4 separate regions of the Homo sapiens genome follow, and regions 1, 2 and 3 are each linked to region 4. The links are contacts of gene promoters, found by promoter capture Hi-C in blood cells and fetal thymus (Javierre and others, 2016). All regions are on one chromosome and are shown on one strand. Each heading gives the region's core, a stretch centred on a gene start or on the middle of the fragment in contact. The rest is flanking DNA. Distances are from core to core; before and after follow the strand shown. Region 1 overlaps RPL37A-DT (RPL37A divergent transcript). Region 2 holds the start of CHPF (chondroitin polymerizing factor). Region 3 overlaps SMARCAL1 (SNF2 related chromatin remodeling annealing helicase 1). Region 4 holds the start of AAMP (angio associated migratory cell protein).

Evidence for each region. The method cuts DNA at HindIII sites, captures the fragments that hold promoters and counts their contacts. A CHiCAGO score of 5 or more calls a contact.
Region 1: a contact is called between a fragment that was not itself captured here and the fragment with the promoter of AAMP in region 4, in 2 of 17 cell types (fetal thymus and total B cells). The highest score is 7.7, in fetal thymus.
Region 2: the fragment with the promoter of CHPF here is called in contact with the fragment with the promoter of AAMP in region 4 in 2 of 17 cell types (naive CD8 T cells and naive CD4 T cells); the score reaches 6.4 in naive CD8 T cells.
Region 3: a contact is called between a fragment that was not itself captured here and the fragment with the promoter of AAMP in region 4, in 2 of 17 cell types (fetal thymus and non-activated CD4 T cells). The highest score is 8.8, in fetal thymus.

Annotation. Positions count from the first base shown.
Region 1 is chr2:216,493,924-216,497,428 of GRCh38, reverse strand. The region is part of intron 1 of RPL37A-DT (RPL37A divergent transcript); the gene reads left to right. Among named protein-coding and RNA genes, the nearest start is that of RPL37A-DT, 3.1 kb to the left of the region's middle. RefSeq lists a silencer at 1,271-1,340. The HindIII fragment of the contact is 4,737 bases long and covers 1-3,505 here.
Region 2 is chr2:219,541,536-219,545,140 of GRCh38, reverse strand. It overlaps CHPF (chondroitin polymerizing factor), which reads left to right and starts at 1,332. Exons shown (of 4, transcript NM_024536.6): 1 at 1,332-1,916; 2 at 2,952-3,525. The coding sequence starts at 1,603. It overlaps TMEM198 (transmembrane protein 198), which reads right to left and starts at 1,113. Exons shown (of 5, transcript NM_001005209.3): 1 at 764-1,113; 2 at 248-452. The coding sequence starts at 413. RefSeq lists silencers at 911-1,050, 1,091-1,800, 1,811-1,900. The HindIII fragment of the contact is 11,388 bases long and covers 1-2,931 here.
Region 3 is chr2:216,414,489-216,418,038 of GRCh38, reverse strand. It overlaps SMARCAL1 (SNF2 related chromatin remodeling annealing helicase 1), which reads right to left. Exons shown (of 18, transcript NM_014140.4): 3 at 2,524-3,392; 4 at 1,732-1,782. The coding sequence starts at 3,334. Among named protein-coding and RNA genes, the nearest start is that of SMARCAL1-AS1, 3.8 kb to the right of the region's middle. RefSeq lists an enhancer at 226-285. The HindIII fragment of the contact is 220 bases long and covers 1,625-1,844 here.
Region 4 is chr2:218,268,244-218,271,769 of GRCh38, reverse strand. It overlaps AAMP (angio associated migratory cell protein), which reads left to right and starts at 1,633. Exons shown (of 11, transcript NM_001087.5): 1 at 1,633-1,804; 2 at 2,236-2,388. The coding sequence starts at 1,684. It overlaps PNKD (PNKD metallo-beta-lactamase domain containing), which reads right to left and starts at 1,251. Exons shown (of 10, transcript NM_015488.5): 1 at 1,168-1,251; 2 at 221-389. The coding sequence starts at 1,234. RefSeq lists enhancers at 957-1,006, 1,037-1,416, 1,567-1,886, 2,455-3,340. The HindIII fragment of the contact is 1,112 bases long and covers 633-1,744 here.

The DNA.
Region 1 (3,505 bases), core at 881-3,380, 1.8 Mb after region 4:
ATGGTTACAATTGTTGGAGGGTAACACATGGTAGGCACTGAGTATTTTATGTGGATGTTCTCATTTAATTTTCCATTATCCTTTATGATAGGAATGATTATTATCTTCATTACTAAGAAAAAGAGAGGAAGTCTCATGTAATGATTAGGAACTTAGAGGCTCTGGATTCAGTATGGGTTCAAAACAGAACTCTGCTATTTACCAGCTGTGGGACCTCTGACAAGTTATTATATACTTTTCTTTCTTTTTTCTTTTTCTTTTTTTTTTTTTTTTTTTTTTTTTTTTGAGACAGAGTCTCTCTTGGAAAAGATTCTTTGAGACCAGGAGTTCTAGGCAGCCTGGACAATATAGCGAGACCCCATCTCCACACACACAAAAAAATAATAGGCCAGGTATGGTGACACACATCTGTGGTTCTAGCTGCTCAAAAGGCTGAAACGTGAGGATTGCTTGAGCCCAGGAGTTCAGAGGTTACAGTGAGCTATGATCACACCATTTCACTCCAACCTGGACAACAGAGTGAGATCCTTTCTCAAAACAAAAACAAAAAAAGAAAGAAAAAAGAAACTCATCTCAGGGAAGTTAAGAAACTTGCTCAATGTCACACAGCAATTAGAACTCAAATCTGGTCTGTCTGATCCCAAAGTTAGTTCTCCTAATTGCTAGCTTGTACTACGCCAAATCATAATATTTAGTGCACTGAAAAAGCACATCAGAAAACATAGTTGAATTAAAATCAGGTCCCTGGCACTCAGTCTGGGCCAGGATCTGTAACTACCTTGTGGTTTGACTTTAGGTAAGCCACAGTCCCCACATGGAGAACCACCTCCCCACCTCCCAGCAGCCACCATCTTTATTTACAAGGAGCTGGACCAGGTGGTCTTCAAGGTCCTGTCCAGTTCTTCCCTCCTATGATTCCAGGAAGAGCTTCCAGACTTTGAGTGCCACTGGGGCAGTGACCCACCATGTGCTTTATGTCAGCACATCTTGCACAATTTTGTGGAATAAAGGTAGTTGTCTCTTTATCCTCCCCAATCTGTTATTCCAGCTCTGGCTGTGTAAATTCAAGGAGGAGAAAAAGCAAAAAGTAGTGGATAGTGGGAATAGTCAAATTGATTTTTGCATACATTTTTTGCATTTTCTAATTATCTTTTATAATGAGCATGTGTTTCTTTTATAATCTAAAAAAACTACCATTAAAAAAAAAACCCCAAACATCTCCAGTAACGACGAGTATACCTACTGCCCCAGATCTCAGGGTTTGTTTTTATTTGTTTTGTTTTGTTTTGAGACAGGGTCTTGCTCTGTTCCCCAGGCTGGTGTGCAGTGGTGTGATCACAGCTCACTATAGCCTTGACCTCCCCAGGCTCAAGCAGTCCTTTCACCACAGTCTCCTGAGTAGTGCCCAAATAATTTTTTTATTTTTGTAGAGACAGTCTTGCCATGTTGCCCAGGCTGGTCTGGAACTCCTGGGTTCAAGCAATCCTCCAGCCTCAGTCTTCCAGAGTGCTGGCATTTCAGGCATGAGCCACCATGCCCAGACCCCAGATCTTGGTTTATAATATCATTCTTTAATAAAAGGAACCAGGGCCCCTTAGAGAAGTGACTCATTCTAGGACTGCAGCAGGAAATATACAAGGCGAGCCTGCAGTATCTTGTGCCAGAAAGTAAGGAAATGTTCAGAAAACCCTACACTGATGGGGATATGTCAGAGAGACACAGGAGTCAACTGAAAGAACTCCGAATGGCCAAAGCTAGAAAATTTTGAGCAATAAATAAGGTAGTATTGATTTAACCCAAGTGTAAAATAAATATCCATGGGTCCATGTGGATATAAATAAATGATAGACTAAATAAATGAAAGACAAGAGGCAACTCTCTTTTGCAGAAGAATTTATTTTTTCTTTTTTTGAGACCGAGTCTTGCTCTGTCGCCCAGGCTGGAGTGCAGTGGTATGATCTGGGCGCACTGCAACCTCTGCCTCCTGGGTTCAAGCAAGTCTCCTGCCTCAGCCTGCTGAGCAGCTGGGACTACAGGCATGCACCACCACACCCAGCTAATTTTTGTATTTTTAGTAGAGACGGGGCTTCACCATAACGGCCAGGCTGGTCTTGAACTCCTGACCTCGTGATCCACCCTCCTCGACCTCCCAAAGTGCTGGGATTACAGGTGTGAGCCACTGCACCCGGCCAAGAAGAATTTCAAATAATTTATGTGGATATTCTGCTCTCAAGGAGGGTGAGCATAACTCCCCACTCCCTAAGTGTGGGCTGCACAGAATGACTTCCTTCCAAAGAGCACAGTATAGAAAGGGGAAAAAAGAGTAACTTTATAGCCAACACGACCTCAGCCAAGGTGATGAAGGTCAACATCAACAGTGATAATCTTGTTACTATGTCCCCTTGATGTGGAATGAAAATGGCACTTTGCCTCTGTGATCTTTCTCCCAAAACCCATAACCTCAGTCTAATCATGAGAACAATAGACAAATTCCAAAAGAGGGACATCCTTCAATATACCTGACCAGGGCTCCTTAAAACTGTCAAACCAGGAAAGCCTGAGTAACTGTCACAGCCAAGAGGAGCGTAAGGTGACATGATGACTAAATGTAACATGAAATCTTAGAACAAAAAAAAGACAATACGTTAAAAACTAGGAAGATCCGAATAAACTACAGACTTTAGGTCATAATAATGTATTAATCTTGCTTTATGAATTGTAACCAATTTACCATACTAATGTTAAGATGTTGCCGGGCGCGGTGGGTCACGCCTGTAATCCCAGCACTTTGAGAAGCTGAGGCAGGCAGATCTCGAGGTCAGGAGATTGAGACCATCCTGGCTAACACAGTGAAACCCTATCTCTACTAAAAATACAAAAAATTAGCCAGGCATGGTGGCACATGCCTATAATCCCAGCTACTCGGGAGGCTGAGGCAGGAGAATTGCTTGAACCTGGGAGGTGGAGGTGGAGTGAGTTGAGATCGTGCCACTGCACTCCAGCCTGGGCGACAGAGCAAGACTTCATCTCAAAAAAAAAAAAAAAAAAAAAAAAGTTAACAATAGAGAAAATTGGGTAAGGGTATACAAAAATACTCTCTCCTCAATTTTTTTATATAACTATAAAACTGTTCTACAAAATAAAGTCTATTTTAAAACAACCACCACCACCACCCAAGGAGGTCACCACAAGTCAATTCCATGAGGACAGGGCTTGTGTTGTTCACCTCTGCATCCCAGGACCTATACAAGAGCCTGACGTGTCAGCAGTAATGTCTGTTGAATGGGGGATTGTTACCTTGCATGGTATAATGGTGATGGGTATATGAAGCGTTTCATGTGTTTGGGTTTCTCTGCTTTGTAAAGTCAGTCCAGTTATGTCAGAACTGAAAAAGGCTTTAGAGATAATGTAGCCCAAACTGGAAACTGAGGCCCGGGGGGTCAAATGACTTGCCCAAGGTCACATAGCCATTAAGTGACACATAAACGTGTGTTCGCTCCACTGT
Region 2 (3,605 bases), core at 83-2,582, 1.3 Mb before region 4:
GATTAATGTGCCCAAGACATCACAATTAGTAACTGCAAAGCTAAGTAAATTCACACTCAGGTGTGCCTAATCCAAAAACCTGTTTTTCCTATAATCTAGAGTCTAGACAATCTATAAATGTGTGGGATGAAAGAAAAGGAAGAATTATTCATGATGGTAGAGGGATTCAGAGAAGACTTGGGGGCCCAGAAAAAGAACTCGGGGAAACACTGGGGAGCCCAGGTGAGGGATGAGATGGGGATCTCACCGAAGAAGCAGTAGACGACTCCAAACAAACAGCACATGATGCAGACGAGGGCCGGCAGTGCCTGGTACCTGCGCTCCAGGGGCTGTTCACAAGGTGCACCCCAGAAGGCATCATCTGGCTCAGGGGGCAGCAGCTGGAACCGCAGTGTTGCCACAGTCCCCGGCATAGTGCTGGGAATAGAAGGGAGTCACCCTCCCAAGTTAACCTGACAGAGGGAAAGTTGGGGTCACGGAGGAGTCCTGGGTCCCCACCAGGATGGGGGTGGGAGAGGGATTGGGAGAACTCAGCAAGGACAGTGGACAAAGGAATAGTATCCACATTTGTGCAGCTCCGGAAGCATCTCTGGAGTGGGGAGCAAAGACAAAGGGAAACAAAAGTGCCTGGCTAGTGGAGGCTGGGATGAAGTTAAAAGAGGGACGGGAGTCGGGGGGATGAAGGGAGCGTGCTGCCAGTGAGAAGGAGGCAGCCAAGAGATTCATCTGTGGGCGGCTCAATATGGGATTGTCCAAGATTTACCTGGGCTGGAGGCGACCTGAGCTTCTGAGTGAAAGAGGCTGTGCAGAGGCCCGAGGGGCCGGGGTTGCGGGGCGCCAGAGGCTCCAACTGACTGGGGTCCAGGGAAAGTCCGTCGTGCGAGGAAGGGGGCTGCTGGGCCGGAGAGAATGGTGTCGGCGCGGTGGCGGCGCCGCTCCACGTCCAACACCGGCTGGCACTCCAGTCCCGCGGCGTCCGGGAACTCGGGCTGGGCCTGAGGAAGGGGAAGGCGCAGGAGCCGGGGCTCGGGCCGCCCCAGAACCGCGGCCCCATGCCCTGAGCCCGCCCGCGGCCTTTGGTGCTGATGGACAGCTCCGGCCTCTGCTCCTGACGTCACTCAGGGCGCACCATCCAGGCAGGGGCGGGCTGCTTCTGACGTCACATGGGACGCACCAACCACGCCGCGGGAGGCAGGGGACTCCGCCCCCGGCGTCTCCCTCTCCCGCACTGAGGAGGGGGCACTTCCGGGGGTCCTTCCCCTTTAACCTCCCCCTTCTCCTCCCTCTCCGGTAGCGAGAGCCCGAGACCCCACCCCGGGGGCGGGGCCCTTGCAGTGACACGTCGGACAGCTGCGGCCGCGGCTGAGGCTCCAGTGCCGAGCGCAAGAACCCTGCGCAGCCCAGAGCAGCTGCTGGAGGGGAATCGAGGCGCGGCTCCGGGGATTCGGCTCGGGCCGCTGGCTCTGCTCTGCGGGGAGGGAGCGGGCCCGCCCGCGGGGCCCGAGCCCTCCGGATCCGCCCCCTCCCCGGTCCCGCCCCCTCGGAGACTCCTCTGGCTGCTCTGGGGGTTCGCCGGGGCCGGGGACCCGCGGTCCGGGCGCCATGCGGGCATCGCTGCTGCTGTCGGTGCTGCGGCCCGCAGGGCCCGTGGCCGTGGGCATCTCCCTGGGCTTCACCCTGAGCCTGCTCAGCGTCACCTGGGTGGAGGAGCCGTGCGGCCCAGGCCCGCCCCAACCTGGAGACTCTGAGCTGCCGCCGCGCGGCAACACCAACGCGGCGCGCCGGCCCAACTCGGTGCAGCCCGGAGCGGAGCGCGAGAAGCCCGGGGCCGGCGAAGGCGCCGGGGAGAATTGGGAGCCGCGCGTCTTGCCCTACCACCCTGCACAGCCCGGCCAGGCCGCCAAAAAGGCCGTCAGGTAGTGATCGGCTGCGCCCGCTCTACCCCCTGGGCAGCGGCCGGGAAGCGCGCGGGGAGGTCGCCCGGGCCCGGGTCAGGCTCCGGAAGGAAGGGGCTGGCGAGCCAGGAAGTCTTTGGGCCCCGATAACTTCCGATGGCCCTGCCTTCCCGAGAGCCGTGGGGCCAGTCCGAGACTTTCTCTGGGCCCTATCCCGGCCTGGGCTGAACTTACTGGACTGTGTCCTAAACCGGCTCGACCCGATGGCGCCCCAGAGATCCTACTAGCTCCCTGGCTGGGCTGCTGGTGTTAGAGAAATGACTTATATATAGGGTGAGTGTATAGAGACAGGGGAAGAGAAAGGAGAGAACTAGGATTTACCTGGATCTCTTGTTCCTGAGTGGGTTACAAGGGCCACCTCAGGGTGAGATGGGGGAGGGAGGAATGTACCTATCTCATTAATGTCTCTGCTGATGAGTTGAAATAACTTCTAAGTAACATTGGGTTCAAATGCTGGTTCTGCAATTTACCTTCTGCCTTACCAAAAGGTAAGTTCCTAGAGCCCCTGAGTGCAGTTTGCCCCTCCCCGCAAAAACACTCAGTACACCCCTATGCCAAACGTTCCTTTATGTCATTTATGTGAGGCATTTGTGGCATAATGGCATATTTATATAGAAATGAGTAGATACATGGTGTGTCCAGCGTTTGGCTGGGTGCTTTAAACAGATATAATCAGTCCCATTTTACAGATGGCTCAGGTTAAATAACATGCTCAAGGACATAACTACTAAGTAGCGAACCCCGGAGTCAGACCCACAATATCTCTCTCCTATCTGGGTGGGTATTGCCATCTCCCAAATGCAAAGCACTACCTGTTTAAGACCATTTCGTTTAAATCCTCATGACCCCTGGGAGAGAGGGTTTATTTTTAACCTATTCATAGGTGAGAGAACAGATACAGAGAAGACGTGACCTGCCAGGGTCTGTGCTGACCACCTCCCCCCCACCCCCCGCCCCGTTGTCCTTTTGATAAGCTTGTGCCATCTCCTCCCCTAGGACCCGCTACATCAGCACGGAGCTGGGCATCAGGCAGAGGCTGCTGGTGGCGGTGCTGACCTCTCAGACCACGCTGCCCACGCTGGGCGTGGCCGTGAACCGCACGCTGGGGCACCGGCTGGAGCGTGTGGTGTTCCTGACGGGCGCACGGGGCCGCCGGGCCCCACCTGGCATGGCAGTGGTGACGCTAGGCGAGGAGCGACCCATTGGACACCTGCACCTGGCGCTGCGCCACCTGCTGGAGCAGCACGGCGACGACTTTGACTGGTTCTTCCTGGTGCCTGACACCACCTACACCGAGGCGCACGGCCTGGCACGCCTAACTGGCCACCTCAGCCTGGCCTCCGCCGCCCACCTGTACCTGGGCCGGCCCCAGGACTTCATCGGCGGAGAGCCCACCCCCGGCCGCTACTGCCACGGAGGCTTTGGGGTGCTGCTGTCGCGCATGCTGCTGCAACAACTGCGCCCCCACCTGGAAGGCTGCCGCAACGACATCGTCAGTGCGCGCCCTGACGAGTGGCTGGGTCGCTGCATTCTCGATGCCACCGGGGTGGGCTGCACTGGTGACCACGAGGTGGGATGATAAGCTATCCCACTGATACCTCCTTGTCATGTTCAAATCCCTCTGAGAGGCAAAGGGATGTTGGAGATACA
Region 3 (3,550 bases), core at 485-2,984, 1.9 Mb after region 4:
TGAGGCAGGAGAATCACTTGAACCCGGAAGCCAGAGGTTGCAGGGAGCCAAGATCGCACCACTGCACTCCAGCCTGGGCGACAGAGTGAGACTCTGTCTCAAAAAAAAAGTAACGATATCACACAAAAAACCTAAATGAATCTGCAAAAGCAGAAGTCATCTAAGTCACCATGCACCGTGGTCAGAACAAGAGTAAAAAGACAAAACAACCGCAACAGGGGAAACCACTGGTTTAAGATCACCAGCAATGAGAATACCAGGTGTCAAAATCTGCAATCTTTATCCAGAGCCTTGGGTCTCCCCGTTCCAACACCAAATAAATCGATTAAAAAATGAGCCCTCACTAGACGGAGCTAGCAGCAGCAGCGTTATGGGTTGAATTGTGTCCCTCCAAAATTCATGTTAAACACACAGCCCAGGACCTCAGAATGTGATTGTATATGGAGATAGGGCCTTTAAAGAGGTTAATAAGTTAAATGAGGTCACCAAGGTGGGCGATAATCCAATGACTGGTGTTCTTCTAAGAAAAGGGAGAGACCCTAGGGATTTGCACACACAAAGGAAAATCCAAACAAGGACACAGAGAGAAGACAGCCACCTGCAGGGCATGGAGAGAGGCCTCTGAAGAAACCAACCCTACCAATCTCAGGCTTCCAGCCTCCAGGACTGTAAAAAATAAATTTGTATTGTTTAAGCCACCCAGTCAGTGGTACTTTGTCACGGCAGCCCTCGCAAACTAACAACACTAGCAGCTACCAAAGAAAGATATCGCCTAATGTACACATTTCAAGAATTGGAGGCCAAGGAGAAAACCAGGAAATTCTGCAGGGAGCTGTCCCATCACTGGCCCAAACCACCTTTCCCAGAAACTGTACTGGTGCCTCCAGATAATCCTACCTCATACCCCAAATCTGCAAAGTGACCTAAGCATACATCCTTATCTTTTCCTTTCTTAAGCTAGGGGGAGGAAGAGACGGTGTAGAAATGGCAGCTGGGGGAGAAGAGTAAAATAAATGGAAGATGAAAACACACAGGGCTGACGCTTTGACACAGGTGTGCAAGCTCCATGTACCAGGATCAAGTGACAAAAACTTTAGTGTATGACAGTTTTCTCAGAAGACAGAGGGACGTAACCAGGTGCTGACTATGACCAGACACTGCATTAGCTGGAACTTGCCTGGCCAATGCCCCCTCCTTGCATTTTTGAGTAGTTAGCTGCACAGAGAGTACTCTGAGGATCTGTGCTGTTTGCTGAACTGTTACCTTCCTGGGAGCAGGGGCTGGCAGGCTGCCTGAGCTGCCTGTCACTGCTGGGGCCAGCATAGTCTGGTGGGAACGTGTAGTCTGAAGTCAGACTGTCAGGGTTTGAATCCCAGTTGTACAACTTATTGGCTATGTGACCCTGTGTTACTGACTCATCGTCCCTGGGCCTCAGTTTCCCCATCTGTAAAAAAGTCATTATAAGGAATAAAAGTTAGCATAAGGGGCTTAGAATAGCCTAATGCAAAGCAAGCATCATTTAATGCTAGCTTTTGTTAATACTACTAACGGCCTTCACCCACAGAGCTGCCTCATTAGGCTAGACAGAGTGGGAAGGAGTGTTGGGGGGGGTGCCCTGAAAGCTTTCACCACCTGTAAAGCCATGCACTCCATAAGCTGGACTACATGTGATACTCTAAAGATTTTCAGCACCAGTGCCACCCTCCATGAGACAACCATGTGTCTACTTACTCAGGGCACTATAGTCATTCATGCTGAAGTTCCACGTCTTGGTGTCAGGATCTGAAACAAAACAGAGGACTGATGACTGTTGACAATTTGTACTTAGGCACTCAACACAAGCTTGTCTTCTAAATGAATGAATGAAGGACGCCAAGTTCAAAACAGCTGACCAGCAAGCCCCCACTGATCTATAAAAATCTCTGTAGAGGACAAATAGTAAATATAGATAATTCTTTTATTCCATGTAGTGGAATCCAACTCAGGCCCTGGGAAGTTATGAACTTCACCTAAGAGGACTGAGGGCAGAGTTAGGACTAGAATCCAAGTTCTCCAGGTCGTAGTGTGGTCAGGCAAAGCAGTATGAGGAGTAATGGCTCTGGCCTGTAATTGAGCTAGTCACATCCTGACGCTGCCTTTCCAGACCAATGAAACTGGGCCTGTCACTTAATCTTGCTGGGCCAGTTCCATCACCTTAAAAACTAAAATAACATCTACTTATTTCAAAAAAACTGCTGTTCAGCTTAAGTGCTACAATGCATATAAAGCACCTGGCAGAGGAAGCGTCTTCTCAGTAACATTCAACTGTTCTCCAGATGGCCACGTGACAACCATCAAGTTTGGCAGCTGTTTAAGGGAATGACTATTATGAAGGGAAACAAGCTAAAATTGAAAAATTTTTAACAACTGGATGGACAGCATGTGCCAATGCACTCTCTTAATATTTATGAGAAACTGTTAGATTAAAAGAGACTCCAAAAATAAGAAAAAAAAAAAAAAACAGCTGAAAAATGAAGACATTACCATAATTCTTGCTGGGCAGGGTCTTAAACACTGCAATGAGTTCCGCATTGTACCCAATCAACACCTGGAAACGATCGCCGTTCCTTACGCACTTTCCCTTCTGAGAGTTCACTCCTTTTTGGACTGAGGACCCTGACTTCTGCTGGAGTCTTCCTTCTGTCCTGGGCGTTACACTCTCTGAGCTAGAATGGATGTAAGAAATGTTCTGCCCCGAAGGGGAGGCTTTTGCTGTCTTGGCCTCTAACTTAGCATCCCTGGGAGGCTGTCCAGAGGAATGAGCTGGTGTCTCTTGGGAACTCTTTGGTTTGGCCAGAGGCTTATGAGTTGGGTTAGCAAAGGGTGTGAACCTGATCTCAGGTGAAGCCTGAGCATGACCTTGACCTAACTCATAACTCAAGAGCTGTTGTTTAGGGACCTCTGGAGGACTTTGTGCCAAGGGAGGAGAGATTCCAGTGAGAGCCATTTGACTACGTGGACTGTGGCCTGGGCAGGCTGTGGGCATTTCTTCTGGCTTTTTCCATATTCCCTTTGCCTGAAAACTGTGGGAATCATGAGGTCTTTGGTCAGCATTAGATGAGCTACTGAGATTCTGTTGCTTGAAAATGACACCATGGCTCACTGGCTTACAAGACTCCCTTGGGAAATTTTGGGATGGGCCTTGCTTGGCCTGGAATGGGTTGCCAGCAATGGAGGTGCCCGAGCTAGTCCTCTGATGCTGTTCTGCCAATAACTTCTCAGCTCTGCGGGCCAGAGCCTTTTGTCGATTCTCTTCAATCTTTTTCCTCTGCTCCTCTGTAAGAGGCAAGGACATTTTCACAGAGAAATGCTTATGCAGGAATGTCAACCTTTAATTGGAAAGTTGGCAAAAGCTGTGGAAGAAAGTAAGAAGAATGAAATGAACATTACATGTATTAATTGTCATACTCCAACCATGATTTTAACAAGCTTTTGTCCCAGAAAATGCATAATGAGCACAACTAAAGGATGTATTAAAGTTTCTTTTATAATTGCACACACACTGAAATAG
Region 4 (3,526 bases), core at 384-2,883:
ATCAACTCAGCTTACTCCACAGTAAACCCACTGTCTTCTCAATTCCACATACTTTCCCACCTCCACTGCCCCACCCCTCTGAGATTCCAATCGAACCCAACAATTCTGTTCCCACAACTTTGGATTCAGCTCGCCACCTGAAACTTGGAGAAGTTTCTAAGTCCTGCCCTCCCCTACAAGCCACGCCCCGTTGGTGGGCAAAGGGGTGGTTAAAACTCACCAGGCCAGTCCCACAGCTTTCATGGGGTTCTTGCCCCTCTTTCTGGGAATGTATTCCAGCTCCGGGGATAGGGGTTCAGGTTCCTCCTTGCCCTCTGGGGAGCTGTGGCTTTGCAGGGCCCGGGTCCTGTTATGAGAAGCCTTGTTAGCTGTGGCTCCTGCGAGAATCCCTGTGGATGGAGGTAAGGAAGGTCAGTAAGAAGAGATGAGAAGAAAGCAAGCGGGGAGGTGGGGGGCAGTAAGGGCTTGGGAGGAGCGGCTGAGATCTGGGGAAGGGGAGTGACTGCAGTCTGAAGTAAGAAGTGCCAAGGAGAATCCAAAGGGAAATGGGAAAATCGCCACCGAGGTGGCACCTTTGGAAGCCACTTCCACGTCACTGCGGGCTCATCACCCTGGTGCCAGGACGAAAAGCTTCGCTGTTCTTCCTCAGACGACAGCATGGGAAGGACTGCAGTGGGACTCACATAAGACGTATGAAGGAAATCCGGGAAAAGGTTTTGAAACTGCAAATGTTAGCACTGGAAGGGACCTTAAAGATAGTCTACTCCATCCCTTGCACTGTACGGAAGAGGAAACTGAAGCCCTGAGAGAAAAACTGCTTTGCCCAAGGTCAAACTGCTAATTATCCGGGGCTGGAACTCAAACCTCCAGAAGCCCGGGGCTCTTTCCTCTGCACTGCGGTGAGTGTGAAACACCTGGAGCGCGGGAGTCCAACAGGCTTCCTAGGAGCTCCCTCTTGCAGCAAGACCCCGGAGGTGTCGAGCAACCCGAAGGCGGGGGGATGCACTGGGTGACCTCTAAAGAGCATCTCTGCACCCCCAGACTCTAAGATCTTGCAGAAAAGTGTGGGGAGGAACCAAGAGCCCTGACCTCCTGCTATCGTCGGGCTGGACGTGAAAGAAAAGGGATCTTCTGCAGTCCTGCCCTCCCCGGGGTCCCTCTCCTTACCCCGGAGGACGCGGGCATTTCTCGCCCCCCGGCCCTTCAGCGCCGTAGCAGCTACCACCGCCGCCATGTTCAGATCCCACCCCCGCTTCACCGCGCTCCCCGCCGGGAATTGTAGTTTGCGTAAGGGGCCTCCCCCGCTCCTTCCGTCCTGCCTACAGACCAGAAACTACATCTCCCAGAAGCCCGCAGAGCGGACCCAGGAGAACTACTCTTCCCAGGAGACCCCGGAGGCGCGCGCGCTCGCTTGTTTCCCTCCAGTTGGGGGCGGAGTCAGGTGGGGCGGAGTTTGGGTTCTCTCCGCCACGCCCCGGCCCCATCTTCCAATGCCGCTCTGTGATTGGTGAGGCGGCCAGCCAACCTTCGTAGCTATTGGCCGAACGGCCGTCGCTCTTCCTGCTGGGGAGTCGCCTACGCCTACTTCCTGCCGGGAGGAGGGGCTCGAGTTCCGCGTCGTCGCGCAGAGCTGACTCTGGGAGGCGTTTGGGCCCAGAGAAGTGGATCCGCCGCTTGCGCCGCATGGAGTCCGAATCGGAAAGCGGGGCTGCTGCTGACACCCCCCCACTGGAGACCCTAAGCTTCCATGGTGATGAAGAGATTATCGAGGTGGTAGAACTTGATCCCGGTCCGCCGGACCCAGGTGAGAACTGCCGCTCCTCAGGCCATGGGACAGGAGACGCTCACCCCTGGCCTCTGACTCCTGCTTTTCCCCGCTCCCCTCCACACCCGACTGGTCATTCCTACCGATATCCCTCTTCCCCTCCTCCCCCACTCCCACCCTCACACTTAGTTCTCAGGCCTGGCTGGGGTGGGGGTTCCCTGACGCCTCCTCTGGCCCTTCCCCTCACACACCCCCTTCCCATCATCCCCTTGGCCCTCCCTTACCGCACGGTCTCTGGCCAGCCGTGGCCTCCCGTCCTGTGTCCCGCGCGCCCCCGCGGACCCCGGTGTGTCTGACTCCACCTTCCCTTCTCGCCACATGACCCGCCCCAGCCTCAGGCCTCCTCATGCTTCTCTCCGTACCTCTTACCGCCTCCCGAGCCCCATCTTCTAACCCTCTCCCCAAAGCAGATGACCTGGCCCAGGAGATGGAAGATGTGGACTTTGAGGAAGAAGAGGAGGAAGAGGGCAACGAAGAGGGCTGGGTTCTAGAACCCCAGGAAGGGGTGGTCGGCAGCATGGAGGGCCCCGACGATAGCGAGGTCACCTTTGCATTGCACTCAGGTAGGTCTTTGAGGCGATCCACCTCAAATCAGTTTAGGTGGGCGTGTAAGCATTAAACATCAGCCATGGACAGAACGTTATGGGGGACACAGAGATGGGCAAGATGCTGGCCTTGCGCTGGAGGAGCCCACAGGTGGGAAAGTGTGGCAGAATGGATGATTGCTTGGCTTCTGGCATCAGTCGAGACACCCTCTACTTTGCCAGTTAACCTTGATTAACCTCTTAGTTTTCTTTTAAAAAGTTATCTTTGGCCGGGCGTGGTGGCTCACTCCTGAAATCCCAGCACTTTAGGAGGCTGAGGCAGGTGGATCACTTGAGGTCAGGAGTTCGAGACCAGCCTGGCCAACATGGCAAAACCCAGTCTCTACTAAAAATACAAAAATTTGGCTGGGCATGGTGGCTCACGCCTGTAATCCCAGCACTTTAGGAGGCCCAGGCAGGCGGATCACAAGGTCGGGAGTTCCAGACCAGCCTGGCCAATATGGTGAAACCCCGTCTCTACTAAAAATACAAAAATTAGCTGGGCGTGGTAGCGGGCGCCTGTAGTCCCAGCTCCTCGGGAGGTTGAGGCAGGAGAATTGCTTGAACCCGGGAGGCGGAGGTTGCAGTGGACCAAGACTGCGCCATTGCACTCCAGCCTGGGCAACAGAATGAGAGTCTGTCTCCAAAAAAAAAAAAAAAAAAAAAGTTATCTTTGATAAAAGTTAATAAAAGTAGTGAGTATAAAATTAGAGATAATTGGCCAGGTGCGGTGGCTCATGCCTGTAATCACAGCACTTTGGAAGGCCAAGGCGGGTGGATCACCTGAGGTCGGGAGTTCAAGACCAGCCTGGCCGACATGGTGAAACCTCATCTCTACTAAAAATAAAAAAAAAATTAGCTGGGTGTGGTGGCATGTGCCTGTAATCCCAGCTACTCCGGAGGCTGAGGAAGGAGAATCACTTGAACCTGGGAGGCAGAGGTTGCATTGAGCTGAGATTGTGCCACTGCGCTTCGGCCTGGGCGACAGAGCAAGATTCCATCTCAAAAAAATAAAATAAAATGAGAGATAATTATATCTTTTTGAGCATATTTTATATAACTTTCTCAAGTGCTAGTTCTTAGTAAGAAACTGTTGCCAGGCACGGTGGCTCATGCC